Regions from separate parts of the Homo sapiens genome. Here region 1 is linked to region 2. Evidence: promoter capture Hi-C in human tissues and cell types (Jung and others, 2019). All regions are on one chromosome and are shown on one strand. Each heading gives the region's core, a stretch centred on a gene start or on the middle of the fragment in contact. The rest is flanking DNA. Distances are from core to core; before and after follow the strand shown.

Region 1 (4,907 bases), core at 16-2,515, 780 kb after region 2:
ACACACACACCATGGTATTATATTACATATATATGTTATATATATATGTTTTATATATATATGTTTTATATATATATGTTTTATATATATATGTTATATATATATATAAATGACATCAGTTTTCTCCAAAGACTTTTCTCTCTCCATGTATCTGTGACATATTTCTTTCTCTTGATATATGTCATTGTCAAGGAATCCTTGTTTTGACACTTCTTTTGTAAATCAGTTGCTTTTTCTCCTTGCCATTGCCCCACCTGCTTAGACTCTGTATCTCTCAGTTAAAGGATTGCAACAGTCTTCTAATTGCATTTCCTTTCTTTAGTTTTTTTTCTACCTCCAATTAATAGGACATAACATATATAGTATTCCATGGAATATATAGTATTCCATGGAATACTACTCAGCCATAAAAAGGAACAAAATAAAGGCATTCGCAGCAACTTGGATGGAGTTGGTGATCATTATCTAAGTGAAGTAACTCAGGAATGGAAAACCAAACATCATATGTTCTTACTTATAAGTGAGAGCTAAGCTATGAGGATGCAAAGGCATAAGAATGATATAATGGACTTTGGGTACTTGAGCGGAGGGGTGGGAGGAGGGTGAGGGATAAAAGACTACACATTGCGTACAGTGTACACTGCTCGGGTGATGGGTGCGCCAAATCTCAGAAATCACCACTAAAGAACTTTTCTGTGCAACCAAACACCATTTGTTCCCCCAAAACTGCTGAAATAAACAACAACAACAAAACAGAATAGATACTGTAAATTCATTCTAATTTGAGGAGGACAGAGAGAAGGGAGATAATGTCCCTTGTCAATTTTTTTGCATTTGTTTATATATTTACTGACTTTTGCTTTCTGTAGGTTAAATGACAATGGCCTTATGAAGTTGATATCTTTGTCTGAATTATTTAGATTGTTTTCCTTCAATTTTAAGAGTGCTATGTACTATGAAAGTACAGTGCTATGAAAAAGTGAGTTAGTAATAGTGTGGCTGCCAGTTGCCTTTGATTACAATGTGACTTTATATCCTGGGGGCACAGGTTGTACTCTGAGGACAGTGGGAAAGCTTTGGAAGATGGTGGGCTGTGGGAGACACCTGAGTGAAGCCATGTTTTAAAAAGATCAATTTGAATATGTTATGTCCTATTAATTGGAGGTAGAAAAAAAACTAAAGAAAGGAAATGCAATTAGAAGACTGTTGCAATCCTTCAACTGAGAGATACAGAGTCTAGGCAGGTGGGGCAATGGCAAGGAGAAAAAGCAACTGATTTACAAAAGTAGCGTCAAAACAAGGATTCCTCGACAATGACATGTATCAAAAGAAGGAAAGATGTCACAGATGCGTGGAGAGAGAAAAGTCTTTGGAGAAAACTGATGAGTTTAGCTTGGAACAGAGACTCTGAAAGGATGACAGGACACCCAGTTTGGACTTATCCTGTGGTTATATAGAGAGCAAGACTCTTAACTGTGGAGAGGTCAGAGGTGTGTGTATGAGGCTTGGAACAGCTTTTTGAGAAGCTATGCTGGCGGTTTTCCAGATAAGGGTCCAGTGAGGCCTTTGAAGTGGTTAGAATGGGCTTGGCCAGGCGGGGGCAGCAGAGCATCAGTAATTGCTGGGGACAGCTGGCCGGGACAAGAGCGCTGACAGGGAGTCATGTTTGGATTGAGCCTTCGCACTTGTTCACATTTGTGGGCTGGAAGAACTACAGCCAGTTAAGAAGACAGAGGGAGTGGGGTCCTGAAGGTGGGATCGCCTGGGCAGCACAAATGTGTGGAAGGCAAAGATGCAAAGACTTCTAGGAAGTCAGGAGGGGGTAGGAGTGTGAACAGAAGCAAATGACTAGTGACTTTGAAGAAAGAGATTTCAGAAGAATAGTGAGGCCAACACCAGGTTAAAAGGGGTCAAATGGGCTGGGCGTGGTGGCTCAAGGCCTGTAATCCCAACACTGGGAGGCTGAGGCGGGTGGATCACTTGAGGTCAGGAGTTCTGGACCAGCCTGGCCAATATGGTGAAACCCCATCTCTACTAAAAATACAAAAATTAGCCTGCAATCCCAGCTACTTGGGAGGCTGAGGCAGGAGAATCGCTTGAACCTGGGGAGGTGGAGGTTGCAGTGAGCCAATATCACACAACTGCACTCCAGCCTGGGTGACAAAGCCAGACTCAGTCTCAAAAAAAAGAGGAGGCAGGGGATTAAATGAGGAATGGGTATGGAGATGGAGAAAGTGGGAATAGGAATGTATATTTTCAAGTCAATGAAAAAAAGCAGAGTAACAGGATGGTCGCTTAAAGGGGAGGCAGAATAGAGAGATTTTCTTTTAACCTGAAGTATTCTCGTGAGTGTTTGTGAGCTCAATGAAATAATATCATGAAGAAAATAATTGAAAATGCCTGTGAGAGAAAGAACAAGGGGTTATGAAGACACTCCTCAGAAGAGTTGGGATATAATCAAGAGTTCTGGTGGAAAGTTTGGGTTGAAGGAGAGTAGGAAGGAAGAAGATATAGATAATGGAGATTTTATGGATCTTTATTAAGAGTGCCAACATTGTACAGTCAGCCCTTCATATCCATGCGTTCTGCATCACAGATTTAACCAACTCAGGATCAAAAATGTTCAGAAAAACAATTGCACCTGTACTGACATATACAGACTTTTCTTTGTCATTATTCCCTAAACAATATAGTATAACAACTATTTATATTGTATTAGGTATTATAAGTAATCTAGAGATTATTTAAGATATACGGGAGGATGTGTATAGGTTATTTGCAAATAACTATGCCATTTTTTATCATATACTTGAGCATCTGCAGATTTTGGTACCTGGGGAGCAGAGGAGAAGCACTGGAACCAATTCCCCATATATATCAAGAGATGATTGTATAAGTAAGCTGTATTCCAAATGTTCATTAGTTATCTGGAAAAGTTAAATCATTTTCCTGGAGAAACATGTGGTATTGCGGATATGGCATGTGGAAAGATTCTGGGCTGTGCTCTTCAGATCATGACATTATAATCACCTCCCCCTACTTTATAAATGTGGATATAACTCAAAGTTATGTTTTTACTGTTTTCACTTTACATTCTCCTCCTCAGAGAGAAGTTTCACTTTTACGGTTTAAAATATTCTTAACTATATAACAATATTTTCCCCCATTGTTGCAAGGACTCTTTAGTACAGAAAAGGCTGAACATTTAATAATTAGTTTTTAACACAGTGCCGTAATATCTTGTGTACTTTCCCAGAACTCAAATGTCTCCAAGATGGGAATTTAGATCACTGGTTCTGAATCCTGGCTGCACATTAGAATCACTTTGCCTGGAGCTTCTAAGCAATATCAATGTCTCAGCCCACCCTTGGAGGTTTGAATTGAGGCCTCATTCAAGCAGTTTAGAATGAGGCCTAAGAAACAGTATTTTATTATTTTTTTTTTTTACCAGTTTCACAGGTGAATGTAATATACAGCAGATGTTGAGAGCCACTGACTTAGACGATTAAAGGAACTGCACTGACACTATTAGGTAAATTTTCAATGCATCATGTAGGGTAGGCTGCCCCATTCAAACTCAGTGTGATTAAAATAAAATGCATTTCCACAAGCAGTTTTCTCTCCGGACTTTCTGTCTTCAATTATACATCCACAAAGGAAAACATGAAAACCTCTTAGATTCAGCTTTTTTTCCATTTCCTCATATCCGGTCAGTCCTTAAATCCAATGTCCTTCATAGTCTCATGCCCATGCTCCCACAGCTCTGCCTGCCTCTATGTGTTATGAACTCCTGGAAATCTCTTGCTGTCTTCTTTGGCTCAAGTGCAGACAGTTGAGTTAATCATGTTCTTCAGGCATGTTGTCATCCTGGATTCATGCAAGGCCCTTTGTTTAAATGAAGGTATTTATTCATTCAATAGTCTATTTTGCACATGGCTGCCAGATTGTTTTTAAAAGACTGCTTTCACCAATTCTCTTGACTCACATCTCCCAGTAACTCCTCATTTCCTACTCTGTAAATGGTGAACTACTTTGTGTGCCTTTTAAGGCTTTATATAATTGGTATTGAAACTCCAGGGATTCAGTCTAGGTCCTGCTGCTCACCACACAGGAAGCCAATCACTGAGACAGAGTATTGCCAGGGAAGAAGGCTTTATTCAGGTGCTATAGCTGAGGAGATCGGAGATCAGTCTCAAATCCATCTCCATTCATCTCCCTGACCAACTAAAATTGAAAGTTTATATACCAGGAAAGAAAAGTAACTATGTGTGGGAAAACAGGAATTAGGGAGGGGTAAGGAAGAGGAATTGGCCAACAGGAAGCAGGTGGTCAGTTAGGCAATAATAATGGCTAAGGGATCTGGCATCTCATTGTCCAAATGCAGTGATTTAGTAAGTTTCAGTTCCTTGATACTATGTGGAAGGCCTGATGTTTGGTTTCCTGAGAAAGTAACTCAGATAAGAAAAATGTAACTTTCTTAAGTCTTAGGAATCTCCCAGACATTTTTTTCTTGCCATTATCCGTTAAACAATATAGGGAATAACTAAAAAAGTCTTGGGAGGGTCTATTTCTATGTTTATTCAAAAGAAACCATAAACATCAGTTTTATGGGACAATGGACCAGTTTCATAATCAACACCCATTCAACGTAGGATGTCACTTAACTTCTCTGGCCCATTTTACCACCTGTAAAATTATACGTTAATAAATATATAAAGATATGTAATTATATAATACTATATATTATACATATATAATTCTTTCTAGATCCAAACAAATATTCCTATTTTTTAAAGGACTATTTTCTATTCTGCCTACAATAGGCTATTCATTATTCTAATCAGTTTGGTTTCTTCACTGTTCTAACAACACAAGCTCAGTGTTGCTTTTCATGTTGTTTTTCTCTT
Region 2 (4,604 bases), core at 1,862-4,361:
CTCCAGGGAAAAAGCAAGGAGCACAGCCTTTAACTCAGGCTGCCAACAGAATCAACCGATAAAGGTGATGCCCAAAGGCAGTTCAATAAGGGACATTCTTGGAATAAGTTAGACCAGCAGCTTCATTGAGGGACCTTTTAAGGCCACATTTACTGCACTGCCATTGAGTTATAATGAAGGACATGATAAGAAATGGCCTTATGTAACCCACAGACATATATCTGTGGTCACAAGGTAGATTCAAATGCCGTTCACTCACAGCATATAAAAGAAACTGCTCGGCTGGGCGTGGTGGCTCATGCCTGTAATCCCTGCATTTTGGGAGGTTAAGGCAGGCAGATCACGAGGTCAAGAGATCCAAGACCAGCCTGGCCAACATGATGTTGGCCTACTAAAAATACAAAAATTAGCTGGGTGTGGTGGCACGTGCCTGTAGTCCCAGATACTTGGGAGGCTGAGGCAGGAGAATCACTTGAACCCAGAAGGCAGAGGTTACAGTGAGGCAAGATCATGCCACTGCACTCCAGCCTGGCAACAGAGCAAGACTCCATCTCAAAAAAAAAAAAAAAAAAAAAACTGCTCTCAGAGAGCAGTATAAGGAGACTTCTCTCCCAAGTAAATGACCTCACTGATCATTTCCTCTTTGCTTTGGCTGGGAGAAAATGCAATCACCTCTAGTAAGCACATAATGTTCCACTAACCTTAGTCCTGGCTTTGTCTTACTTTCCCTTTGTCCTGTTTTTCCCATCTACTTGGAATTGATTTTTATATATCTTATTGGATTGCAAAATAAGTATATATGATGTGAGCCATCAGATATCACAGAAAGAGGTGAGTGCAAATGAAGACATAAACAAAAACACAAGCTCCCAAGTAGTAAAAATGAACATTTCATTTTCCCTGACTCAATACTTAGCTAAAAATCAACTGCCCTTGATATGTGACACTTCTACTATTATGTAGAAGTACAACCAAAGAGTTGAACTAACTTCCATATCACTTATTTTATGTTTTGTCGTTGTTGTTATTTGTTTTTGAGACAGGGTCTTGCTCTGTTGCCCAGACTGGAGTGCAATGGCACAATCTCGGCTCACTGCAATCTCCGCCTCCTGAGTTTAAGCGATTCTTCTGCCTCAGCATCCTGAGTAGCTGGGATTACAGGTGCCCACCAGCACGCCTAGCTAACTTTTTTGTATTTTTAGTAGAGACAGGGTTTTGCCACGTTGGCCAGGCTGGTCTCGAACTCCTGGCCTCAACTGACCCGCCCGCCCCAGCCTCCCAAAGTGCTGGGATTACAGGCATGAGCCACAGCACCAGGTCACTTATTTTACTTAATATTACTCAAGTCTTATACTCCATTTCTATGCACACGTCTCAATTTATGTTCCTCAATTACCTTATCTCCTAATAAAGTAAAAGTATTTACATTACCTGCAGATATAAAACTAACAGTAAAGAATGGGTACCTAGTCCCACCTACTCTAGGGAATTAGTTCATACCAAGCCTTGTACCTTGGTTGCATGCAAATTTAATGCAAAAAAAAGGTCAAGGGCTATTGGGCTTGAAAGGGTTAAGGCAGCTTCCAAAATTGAATCCTAGTGATGCTCAGAGAAACTGCTGAAAAGTTATAGATAGATATACACACGCACACCTGTGTGTTCATATGCAAACATACATGAGCCCACACACCCAGAGTACTTTCCTAAGGATGAAACTCAGAGTAATTACAGAAAAGAGAAATGCCACTTAGACCACAGAAACTAACAACATGAAGAAGCCTACGGATTTGGGGAGCCTGGAGAGACTTAAGTCATAGAACAGCATTTAAATATATTTGTCTGCTTACAATTTCCATTGCAAATGTGATTAGTTTGCTTGAATAAATAGGAATATGATGTGTTGGCCATGTTTTCCTCTTGAGGGTTATCACAGAGTTTTGATTAAGGACAAATGTTTGAAATGTTAGGTATATTTAAGTTCACTGCACTTAAAATGAGCTAAGAAGTTGTATAGGCTTGATTAGAGGGCTGCCTTCGTGAACTTAAATTAAAAGCAATAAATTCCAAATGATTCAAGTGATTGGGACTAAATATGGTATTCTGCCAGAGAAGTTGAAATGCAGTCCAAAGAGACTGAAATGGTGTCCAGGTTTCAAGAAATGGTGAAAGAGGAAAGGTCAAGTGTTGGAGTTGCCTTTCCTCTGGGTTAGTGAATGATTCACATTACACAGAACCCCTTTCAAGTACAACTTCACAGGAGTGACAGGCTCCCAGGACAATCTGTTTCATCGTTCCCAAAAAGAAGCCTCTCAAATGCTCCGAGGCGGGTATCTAAGTGTTGTCAGATGGAGAGAGGGAGGGGGAAGATGGGAATGATGGGAAAGCGGGGAGGGGGAGAGTCCCTGGACTTTTTATTCACAAAGGCGCAGACCAAGTCTCCTAGGCAGTTTCCAAAACGGAAGTCAAAGTAACTTCCCCACCCGCGGGAGGGCGGAGCCCTTGAAACGTAATAGGATCAGGCTTCAGCCCGGGCTCTGGCCCCTGGAAGAAGCCGGAGTCAACAACCAGCGGGGTCAGGAGCAGGAGCGCGCTGGGAAGGTAGAGAGGACCCCCAGCGCTTGCCGGCCCAGGGTGCACCAGGCCCCAGTCGCGCCCGCTCCTCCTCGTCGGCCCTGGCTCAGCCCCGTCAGGCACCAACTTCCCTCCCCGGCCAAGTGGGAGTGTCCGGCCCACAAAGTTTCCGCTGCGAGGTCGGGCCTCGGTCTCTGCACCGACCGCCTGTGCTGCCCGGGAGGAGTGGCCCCCTCCCTCCAGCAGCCGCAAGGTGGAACGGCTGCCCGGCACCCCATTTTGCTCCGCCTGTGGCACCAACCCAGACACGTGAGCGCCCGAGCCTCTCGCACCCCCAGGCTGATCCGGCAGGCGCGCTCCCCCCGGCCTCGGGCCCGCGGTTACCTTGGCGGCCGCCATGATTCGCCCCGGTTGCGGGCGACTGCGGGACCCACTGACTGGCTGGCTGGCGTTTGGGACCCGGGCGGCTCACTTCTAGTCCCGGCGGCGGCGGCGGTGGGGGCGGCGATACGGCCAGGCAGCGTGCGTTCCTGGCCTGCCTCCCCACGCCCTCCCGCCGGCGCGGGTCATGTGGATGCTGCCCGCCCATTGGCTGGGCCCAGCCTTGGCCGCCGGGGTGCGCGTGATCCAGCGGCCTCTGCCCTGCAGCCGGGGAGGGCTCAGATCCTGGGGCAGTGGCTGGACAGGGACACGTGACCCCGCTGCGCTGTCCAGCAGCGGCGGCCTCTGCGGCGTGGGCAGAGGTAACTTGGCCGTGTGCAAGCCCGTCACCTGAGGGCAGGTGGCCCCACCAGGGAAGCTGCTGGCTTCTGCTGATACCAGGGGCTACTGGGCCCTCGGACCGATGGGAGGGGCAAGTAACGACAGATGGTGCACGGCCTGGGGAAGTTGAGAACTCCACTAGGACACATACTTTGCTGGATATTTTTTCCCCTGTGCGTTCCCTTTGAAGGAGCTCCACTTTACACTGGATCCAAAAAGACTTTGATCCAAAAGCATTGACTTAGAAGGCGAGATTGCAAATATTGCTGGCACGCCTACTTTTAGATCAAAATCGGTGAACTCTTAAGAACCCAACAAGTGAATGTAGTGCAGAACGTATATTCATGAAACTACTCCATTTCAGCCCTACCTGTTAAAACGGTAGAAGTCAAAAGGCCCGGGTCAAAAGACTTCCCCCAAATAGGCCCTACTAAAATAAATAAACAAGCATTTTAATGAAAATTTGCTTATATGACCTCCAGGCCTTACTCCTCTTCATCAGGATTTCATTCTTCTGTCCTTGTAATCAAAATTTATAAGACAGTGGTGATCAGGGAAAAGGACTTTTAATGTATTGTAGGTTGTGGATGTAATATGGCAGCAAAAAGCACTTATTACTAATCAGTTTAATTCATTAACGTTGATTGAGTGCCTTCCTACTATGTGCTAGGCACTGTGCTTGGTGCTGGAAACCCCGAAATGACTTAAGAACTGGTTCCAACCGTTAAACAGCTTCAGGGCTATTGGGAAAGAGACACATAAATGTTTACTTCAGTATAACCTGTTAAGGCAGCAGACTGTTCCCAGGGCTCAATAAGAATACTGAGAATTCTCATGCCACTATGAAGAAATACCTGAGACTGGGTAATTTATAAACCAAAAGATTTAATTGACTCAGTTTCGCATGGTTTGGGAGACCTCAGGAAACTTACAGTTGTGGTGGAAGGCACCTCTTTACAGGGTTGCAGGAGAGAGAATGAGTGCCAAGCAAAGGGGGGAAAGCCCCTTGTAAAACCATCAGATCTCATAAGAACTCACTATCACAAGAACAGCATGGGAGTAACCGCCCCCATGATTCCGTTGTCTCTCACCGGGTCCTTCCCATGACATGTGGGGATTATGGGAACTACAATTTAAGATGAGATTTGGGTAGTGACACGGTCAAACCATATCAAAAGGTAACTTGATCTTGAGCTATGGGATTGGGGCAGTGGCACGACTAGTGGAAGGAGTCTGGCCCAGCAGGTAGGGGCTGTGTCATGGTGGGTCTT

The links. The method cuts DNA at HindIII sites, captures the fragments that hold promoters and counts their contacts. A contact is called where the count stands out against the background at its distance.
Region 1: a fragment that was not itself captured here is called in contact with the fragment with the promoter of SLC25A13 in region 2 in 1 of the 25 tissues and cell types used here (lymphoblastoid cells).

Annotation. Positions count from the first base shown.
Region 1 is chr7:97,103,233-97,108,139 of GRCh38, forward strand. No RefSeq gene overlaps it. Among named protein-coding and RNA genes, the nearest start is that of SDHAF3, 12 kb to the right of the region's middle. The HindIII fragment of the contact is 9,050 bases long and covers 1-4,907 here.
Region 2 is chr7:96,318,987-96,323,590 of GRCh38, forward strand. SLC25A13 (solute carrier family 25 member 13) reads right to left here and starts at 3,112. Exons shown (of 18, transcript NM_014251.3): 1 at 2,956-3,112. The coding sequence starts at 2,970. RefSeq lists a silencer at 2,908-3,247. The HindIII fragment of the contact is 12,396 bases long and covers 1-4,604 here.